Regions from separate parts of the Homo sapiens genome. Here region 2 is linked to region 1. The links are contacts of gene promoters, found by promoter capture Hi-C in human tissues and cell types (Jung and others, 2019). All regions are on one chromosome and are shown on one strand. The core of a region is centred on a gene start or on the middle of the fragment in contact, and the rest is flanking DNA. Distances in the headings are between cores, read along the strand shown.

The links. Contacts are between HindIII fragments. The study calls those that stand out against the background at their distance.
Region 2: a fragment that was not itself captured here is called in contact with the fragment with the promoter of STX12 in region 1 in 1 of the 25 tissues and cell types used here (dorsolateral prefrontal cortex).

The regions. Positions count from the first base shown.
Region 1 is chr1:27,770,763-27,775,178 of GRCh38, forward strand. It overlaps STX12 (syntaxin 12), which reads left to right and starts at 2,457. Exons shown (of 9, transcript NM_177424.3): 1 at 2,457-2,663. The coding sequence starts at 2,546. RefSeq lists enhancers at 2,177-2,326, 2,293-2,793, 2,447-2,596, 2,794-3,294 and a silencer at 2,707-2,916. The HindIII fragment of the contact is 12,641 bases long and covers 1-4,416 here.
Region 2 is chr1:26,703,606-26,708,021 of GRCh38, forward strand. The region is part of intron 1 of ARID1A (AT-rich interaction domain 1A); the gene reads left to right. Among named protein-coding and RNA genes, the nearest start is that of ARID1A, 9.8 kb to the left of the region's middle. RefSeq lists a silencer at 393-687 and an enhancer at 3,811-4,310. The HindIII fragment of the contact is 8,241 bases long and covers 1-4,416 here.

The DNA.
Region 1 (4,416 bases), core at 1,207-3,706:
TCTTGGAGATTACTGATAACGTACACAAAATGTGTTCATACTGCCTGGCACCTAACAGGCATTTAAGCAATGATAAAATTATTATTTTTATTATTCATGTGTTAATTCAATAAATGTTTGTTTGACATCCAGTATTTGCAAGGCACAGATTTACTGCTATGAGAGATGCTCACTGCAACCTCTGCCTCCCTGGCTTAAGCTACACTCCTGCCTCAGCCTCCCGAGTAGCTGGGACTACAGGCTCAGGCCACTATGCCCAGCTAATTTTTGTATTTTTGGTAGAGATAGGGTTTTGCCATTTTGCCCAGGCTGGTCTCGAACTCCTGAGCTCAAGCAATGATCAGCCTGCCTCAGCCTCCCAAAGTGCTGGAATTCCAGTTGTGAGCCACCGCGCCCAGCCTAAAAACCACTTTTATTTTACATGGAGAAAGAAAACAATATTTTTAATTCCTAAAAGAAAAATATCTTTACTGAACTTCACTTTAAATAGTGTCAAATGTAAATGAAAAAAATCATCAGTACTATTATATAGGTAAAAAAGTGCAATTTACATGACTTGCTTAAGATTTGACATAAAACTACAGATTCTAAGAAACGGTAAGGTTTTATAATAATAACCAAAACAGGCTGGGTGCGGTGGCTCACGCCTGTAATCCCAACACTTTGGGAAGCCGAGGCGGGTGGATCACCTGAGGTCAGGAGTTCGAGACCAGCCTGGCCAACATGGTCAAACCCCATCTCTACTAAAAATACAAAAAGTACCCGGGCGTGGTGGTACACGCCTGTAATCCCAGCTACTCGGGAGGCTGAGGCAGGAGAATCGCTTGAACCCAGGAGGCGGAGGTTGCATTGAGCCGAGATTGCGCCATTGCACTCCAGCCTGGGCAACAGAGCAAGATTCTGTCTCAAAAATAAAATAAAATAAAATAACCAAAATAAGAGTCCCCAAATGTCATCCGTCTCTTTCTAGAGACAGGGAAAAAAAATGCTCTCATAAATTCTCCAACGAAAAATAGAGATAGTCACCCTTAAAAAATCCTAAGGCTGGTGGGTGGATTGCTTGAGCCCAGGAGTTTGAGACCAGCCTGGACAACATGGCCAAACCCCAACACTACAAAAAATATAAAAATTAGCTGGGCGTGGTGGCGCACGCCTGTAATCCTAGCTACTCAGAGGTTAGGTGGTAGGACCTCCTGAGCCCAGGAGAAGGAGGATGCAGTGAGCAGAGATCGCGCCACTGCACTCCAACCTGCGTGACAGAGCGGGACCCTGTCTCAAAAAAAATAAAATAAAGAAAAAATCCTAAGGCCATATACAGGCTCATTCACTTTGGGTCTCCTTTCATCCAGGCAAGCAGCTTTCTGTCTTTGCATTTTCCAAAGACTACAAAGCAGGCTGGGGTGGGGTGGGGTGGGGTGTAGAACACAGGAAACGCAGCCAGTTCCCCTTCACTTCTCACTATCTTGATCTCCTCCCAAACCAAAATCCTATGTCTTTCCTTTTAACATAGGCTTACAAAAATGCAGTTTTCTGTGGGAACATTGAGGTCATGCATTCCAAATTACTTAAGGGAACGATTTTTAAATTTTAGGAATCTAGTTCTCCAAGATATCCCGGCTTGGGATATAGATGAACGAGCTATTTGGGAGAGATTTAGACGAGAATGAATTTTAGAGAAGTAGCGAGGTGAGGAGAGAGTCAGCTTAGCGTTTGGGTTTTGCAGTCAAATTTCAGCAAGGCGAACTAACCTCGCTGGTCTTAATTTTCTCATCGGTAAGAGGGAAAATAATAATGCTTACTTTGATGAATTACTTTACTTCAACATTTAAAAAACCGACTCTCCGTTATCTATTCTAATGATAAAAATATAGATAGAGCATCGTCCCCTGCTGTGAAAAATCTTATGAACAAGTGAATTGCGGTGAGGATTCACATAGTATGTGCTCAATAAACATTATTTTATTGTTTAGATTAGAAGAGGGGTGGAGGGAGAAATGAAAGTGGTTTGGAAACCCCAAACACTACCAAAGCCCTGGGGATGGAAGTAGAGAGGAATTTCGGGTTACGATTTGGTTCCGGGTCTGAGTTTCAACGTTGAATTCTCCCATATTTGGGCCTGAATTCTCAGAACAGAATAGGATGTAAGGGCTGAGATCATCTGGTACAGTTTTATGCAAATCGAAAATTCTTGCCTCTTGTCACTGTGCCCTGGCGAGAAACAACACCTCCACCCAAGCTCATCCAATCTCAGCCCCAACTAGGTGACGTCATCTCCCCGCCCTGCATCCCCAAGCCTCGGGGAGTCCTGTCTCTAAGCTACAGTCCCAGCTCCAGTCCCAGCTCCAGTCCCAGCGGCGCCTGCGCACTTTGGACCGGGGCGGGGAGGACGCGTGCGCGCCGCGTGAGGGCGGGGCTAGTGCGCACGCAGCCTTAGCTCCTTCCCCGCCCTTGCTCTTCCCAGTTTCTCCGTCAGCCTGCGGGTCCCGGCTGGCGGCTGCTTCCGGTAGGAGAGCGGTGTAGAGCGAGCAGGTCTCAGCTCCTCGTCATGTCATACGGTCCCTTAGACATGTACCGGAACCCGGGGCCCTCGGGGCCCCAGCTCCGGGACTTCAGCAGCATCATCCAGACGTGCAGCGGCAACATCCAGCGGATCAGCCAAGCCAGTGAGCCGGGGTACCGAGCTGGGGGGCGGGAGCTGTCCCGGGGACAGGCCTGGGTGAGGCTGCCGGGACGCAGGGCCCGGCTGGGGCTACGGCCGAGGCCACACCTGGGGCTGTCTCGGGCTGTCCACCCTGGGGGCGGTGGGCTGCCATCCCCCAATCTGTCAGGCCCGGGTTGCCCGAGGGTCCCCGGCCCCAGCTGAAGCTTGAGCTGCTTCTCTGGAGTTCTGCCCCCACGGTGCTGGGACCAAAACAGCCGACTTGACAGCCCGAGGGTGGGAAGGGGAGTGTGTGTCACCTCGAGAGCTGTGAGTGCGTTGACTTGGCGCAGTGGTCAGCCGAGTTTCTCCTGTCACCCACCTTCCTCCCCACCCACCTCGCTTTCCTCTTAGACCAGTTTGGATGGGGTTGTTTACTGATTTAGCCTTTAGGTTTACATTCTGCTCAGCCCCTGGCTCCTCGGAAATCAGCAACTTTCAATTAAGGGAAGTGGAGAGTGCATGTGTTTGGGTGACTTCATACACAGTTCTTCCTGTAATGAATTCGGAAATCAGACACAATGACTGGTATTTGAAAGGTGGGATGACTTCATTTTAATAAAGAGAATTCACCAACAGCATTTCAATTTACATTATTTTGTCTTTTGTAACAAATAATTGGGGTGTATTTTTGGATTTCAGGCAGATGAGGCTTTTGTTTTCCTTCCCTACTTAGCTGCTCTTGAACAAATCTGGTACACAGGGAAGCTAAGACACTTAGCCACAACCACATAGCAAGTAAGGCATGGTAGAGTTGTTGGTGGAATTCAGAATGCTATTGCTTGTCTTAAAACTCCCTCCTCCCCATTAGGGTCTGAGTGAAACTGTAGCTGAATGAGTCAAATACAGGGTGTTTCTTGTGCTTGAAAATCATCTTGGAGCCTTATAAACAGGAGATCAGCAGCAGCTTTACTTGGAAAGAATGGTGGTCATCATCCTTGTTGTTTATTATTGTTTTGTGAGCTTGGCGTACTCTGTTAATAGGTAGAACTAGTTAGTCCTGAATTACAATTATATTCTATATTTTAAAGAGTGTCACTTTGCTTTCGTTTTTAAACTTTTAAAAATTTTTCTTTTTTGTAGAGATGAAGTCTTGCTATGTTGGCCAGGCTGGTCTCAAACCCCTGGGCACAAGCACTTCTCCCACTTTAGCCTCCCAAAGTGCTGGGATTACAGGCGTGAGCCACTGTGCCTAGCCTAATTTTTTTGATTTAAAATATTTTTAATTTATTTTTTCGAGACAGAGTCTACTTCTGTCACCCAGGCAGAATGCAGTGATCTGAGTGAAGTGGTACAATCCTAGCTCACTATAACCTTGAATTCCTGATCAGCTTGCTGAGTAGCAAGGACTACAAGGATGCATCTACCGTGCCAGGCTAATTTTTAAATTTTTTGTAGGGATGGGGTCTCACTATGTTGCCCAGGCTCACTTTGCTTTTAAATCTAAATGTATATTGTAGAATTTGAGAAGTAGAAAGTTTCTGATCAAAAGGGATTGAGACTCTGGAAGTGAAAGGAAGAATATGTGGCCTGTTAAAATCCAGAAGTAAAAAAAATTAATATGACCACTGGTTAGAAAGTATAGTACTGTTTGTTCCAGTTTCCTTTTGTGAAGGAGCTGTAATACAGGTTAGATCAGAAAATTCTAGTTCAAGGCTGAAATTTTCTTGTTGAAGCTAAATCTAATTTTAATATCTATTTGCGAAATATTCATTCAA
Region 2 (4,416 bases), core at 1,096-3,595, 1.1 Mb before region 1:
ACACAAAAACTTGGATTGGCACTGACATAGGTTGCTTAATATTGCATGGTCCTTTCCCAGTATGTTGGTAGTGAGGGTATTAGGAACTTCAGACTTATTGCTGAGAGCATAGTTTCTAAGTCAGAGAGATCAGGAAATTCCAATGGGGATGGGAAATAGCCCTATGTGATTACACCAGCTAGGTACTAGGAAGAGATTTAAAAGGTAGAAACAATATCTCCTTCAGAGGCATTTAGTTTTCTTAGGAAAGCATGCTTATGTGCACACATCTGGAAAACTTGAAAAGCAAGGTTTCATAAATGGATGTAGACCACACTAATTATGTGAGCTGAAGGAATTAGAGGAAAAGGTTCAATCAGTTTGGCAGGGTTAACCTGGGACAGCTTTTCAGAGGCTTTTTTTGTGAAGCTAAATGTTCAAGAAACTTAGAATACTAATTTGCCTTTTCATAATGCTATTCTTAAGTTCCATGGGCTTGATAGAATCCACATTGCACATCCATCTCCAGACCAGTAGCTGTCTCAGTGTTCCAATGACTTTGAGAATTTGGACTCTAACCATAAAACTCCCTGAAAGAGTGGTTCCAGGGTCTTAGTGGTTCTTGTGGTCAGGTAGAGCCTTTGGTACAGACTGTTAAGTTCTTGGCTAGTTCAGGGGCACTTTTCTAGTAAATTTGGATTTGGAAGGTCATGTCACCTTCAGAGTTGTGTGCCCTGGACAGCTCTGTAGTAATGGTGGTTCAACTTTGTTGGTGAGTCTGTCTTGGCAGAGTTAGTTGACCTTTCTTAAAACAAGAGCCACGAAGTAAGTATCTGTTGGGACTCTTAGGCTGCTATTTCTGAGGAGCTGGGAGCTGTGTTCAAGTCAAGTTGCTTGTGTTAGACCTTATATTGAGGTTGATGGGTTAGGTAAGCCTGCACATATGCAGTCTGCCCATTTATTCATAGAAATGGCCTTTAATACTGTTTTTGGCCGGGCGCGGTAGCTCACACCTATAATCCCAGCACTTTGGGAGGCCAAGGTGGGAGGATTGCCCAAGCCCAGGACCAGCCTTGGGACCAGGCTATTAACATAGGGAGACCCCATCTTTACAAGACACAAAAATTGCTGGATGTGGTGGTACGTGCCTGTAGTCGCAGTTTACTTAGAAAGCTGAGGCAGGAGGATTGCTTGAGCCCAGGAGGTTGAGGCTGTTGTAAGCCATGATTACGCCAGTGCACTCCAGCCTGGGCAATGGAGCCAAGACCTTGTCTCAAAAAAAAAAAAAAAATTTGTTTTTTATTAGGTTACTATGGCCAAGCAGCTAACAAATGCTGCTCACCAATGCTTAATCCTTGTGGAGCCTCTGGAATATAGTGATTTTGGTTTCTTTACCTGCTGGTCGATCTGTGGTTGGGCCTTGGCACTTCACCGGTCAAGGATCATCAGTGGATGCTTAACAGCTGAAGATGCATGGCATGTCCAGTGCCAGGCCACTGTAATGCTTCTACCTGGAGAAGGATTGGTTACACTGCTCCAGTACAGAAGTACTGCAGACCTTTTTTTTTTTTTGAGATGGAGTCTTACTTTGTCACCCAGACTGGAGTACAGTGGTGCAATCTGGCTCATTGCAACCTCTGCCTCCCAGGTTCAAGCGATTCTCATGCCTCAGCCTCCTGAGTAGCTGGGATTATAGGCTTCCACCACCATGCCCGGCTAATTTTTGTATTTTTAGTAGAGGTGGGGTTTCATCATGTTGGCCAGGCTGGTCTTGAACTCCCAACCTCGGGTGTGATCCACCCACCTTGGCCTTCCAAAGTGCTGGAATTACAGGTGTGAGCCACCACGCCCAGCCTTTTTTTTTTTTCCCCCCCCCTCAAGTAATGGTCCATGACCTGCTGAAAGTACTGGAGTCTTGGATAAACATTCTGGTTTAGAAATACCTTTTCCACTTTTTTTGCCTTGCCATTTTGGCATTTTGCAAAAGTGGGTTTTCAGTTACTCAGAATTGGGCACCATAGTTAACCTCCTATGGATTACAGGTGTTTAGGGGCTTGAACTCTGATCATTCCCAGGTTTTAGAGGAATCCAAGTTCGGGTGAATATTGACTTAGTAGCCTTGAGTATTCTTCCTGAAATTACCCCTCCTCTCCATTTAAATGGATGAAATTAGTTTTTTACTGAATGTGAAGGGACATCTGAATGAACTTCTGTTTGTTTTTGTTAGTCACTTGTGCATAGCTGGAATATTATCTTGGGACAGGTTGAGTCTATTTCCCAGTGGCTTCTGCATTTTCTAAGGGTGGACTGGAATGGGAAGAAGTCTAATGCCAAGAATGCATTCCAACATGCTGCAGAGTAGGAAATTTGATCCCTAAAATGTTGACTTAGTGTTGGTCATGGTACATATTAGAAATCACCCAGTAATCCAGGACAGATTTTTGTCACCCTCCAGGAAGTTATGTTGATATAAATACTAAGGGGCTTTGGGTACTGAGCTAAGTGCTCTGCAGGCCCAAAGCGCTGCTTGAATTGCTACCCATATGAAGAGGAAATGTGCCATGTGCCTTTTTTTCTCTCTTTTGCATTTGGGCTTCCTTATGGCTTTGTTGCTTTTATGTTCCCAAGTCTGCAAAGTTAGATATTAGACTTCCTCCTCCCTTGGCACTGGCAGATTCATGATTTTCCATGGCTCATCACTAGCAGCCAAGATTTTTGTATGCTTTTCTCTCTTAAACTTGTTCGTTTTCAGCTTGCTTGTTTATAGGCATCTCTGTTAAAAGGAACCCTTCTTTTCCCCTTAAGATCTAGCACCAGGGGTGCTTGGGGGTTGTTGTGATATCAGTCAATTAAAAGCCCATTTGGTGTGTGCTTGGTGTTTTTATTTTGCTCATGTTTTCTTTGAGGTCACAACGTGCTTGCCGGGCATGAGTGCCTTTGGGCCCAGCTGTTTACTCTCAACTGCCGTGTACTTTGACTTTAAGAAAAGTGCAAATTCAGCCACGTGGTAGAGGGATTAAAGGCCACATAGTGTTGGATGCTTCCTTTTGGAAGAAACAGATATATCTTTGGGCTCTTCTTGCCCAGTGATTTCTCCTGTCTGGGGTAGACATTGTTGCTTTCTGTTGTCCTTAGAGAACAGGGCAGAAATGCTGGGAATTGGTTTATTACTGTGTCTCTTTGGCAAATATGTATGTCTTTTTCTCTTGCCCTTTGGACAACATTCTGTTCTGGTCCTAAGGTGTTGGAGTTCACAGGTTGATCTAGCGTTATGTGAAACTCTTGGTAATTTAGGTTTGGATAACCGGCTTTTAGTCTCCAGATTTCTAACATTGTGCTTGTTTAGGAATTTAGGCTTCTAAAGAGAACCATATTACAAAGCTTTTGGGGAACAATTCTGTAGGTAGTTTATCTGTTCTTGGGTCACAGATCCTCACCAGGATCCTGACTTTTTTTTTTTTTTAGACGGAGTCTTGCTCTGTCACCCAGGCTGGAGTGCAGTGCAGTGGGGCAATTTCAGCTCACTGCAGTCTCCGCCTCCTGGGTTCAAGGGGTTCTCCTGCCTCAGTCTCCTGAGTAGCTGGGACTACAGGCATGCGCCACCGCGGCTGGCTAATTTTTTTTTTTTTTTTTTTTTTTTTTGAGATGGAGTCTTGTTCTATCGCCCAGGCTGGAGTCCAGTGGTGTGATCTCGGCTCACTGCAACCTCCGTCTCCCAGGTTCAAGTGATTCTCCTGCCACAGCCTCCCGAGTAGCTGGGACTACAGGCGCCTTCCACCACGCCCTGCTAATTTTTGTATTTTTAGTAGAGATGGGGTTTCATCATGCTGGCCAGGCTGGTCTGAAACTCCTGAGCTCGTGATCTACCCGTCTCGGCCTCCCAAAGTGCTGGGATTACAGGCATAAGCCACCACGCCCGGCCTAATGTTTGTATTTTTAGTAGAGATGGGGTTTCACCATGTTGGCTAGGCTAGTCTCGAACTCCTGACCTCAGGTGATCCGCCGGCTTTGACCTCCCAAAGTGCTGGGATTACAGGCGTGAGCCACTGTGCCTGGCAAGGATCCTGACTTTCAAATGATGGCCACCATGCATTTGAGTACTTATTATGTGCTAAGCATTATGCTTAGTCCTCTTGATGAATTTCCTAATTTAATCTTCAAAACTGTATAGGAGGTGGGTTCTATTATTAATCTTCCTCTTTTACAAATGAGGAAATAGAGTAAGATAAGAAATTTGCCCTAGGGAAAATAGCTGGTAAAAGGTAGAGTTGGGTTTGTCTGACAAGGTAGACAAGGTTTGTCTGACTCTTCAAAGGTATTACAATCTAAAATACTAACTTTGCTTCTCCAAAATAAATTACTCAGGCACCAAGATTGTTTAGGACATTATTTTTACAATAGCCTGAAACTCTTAAATGGGGTGAAAGACTGAAAAGC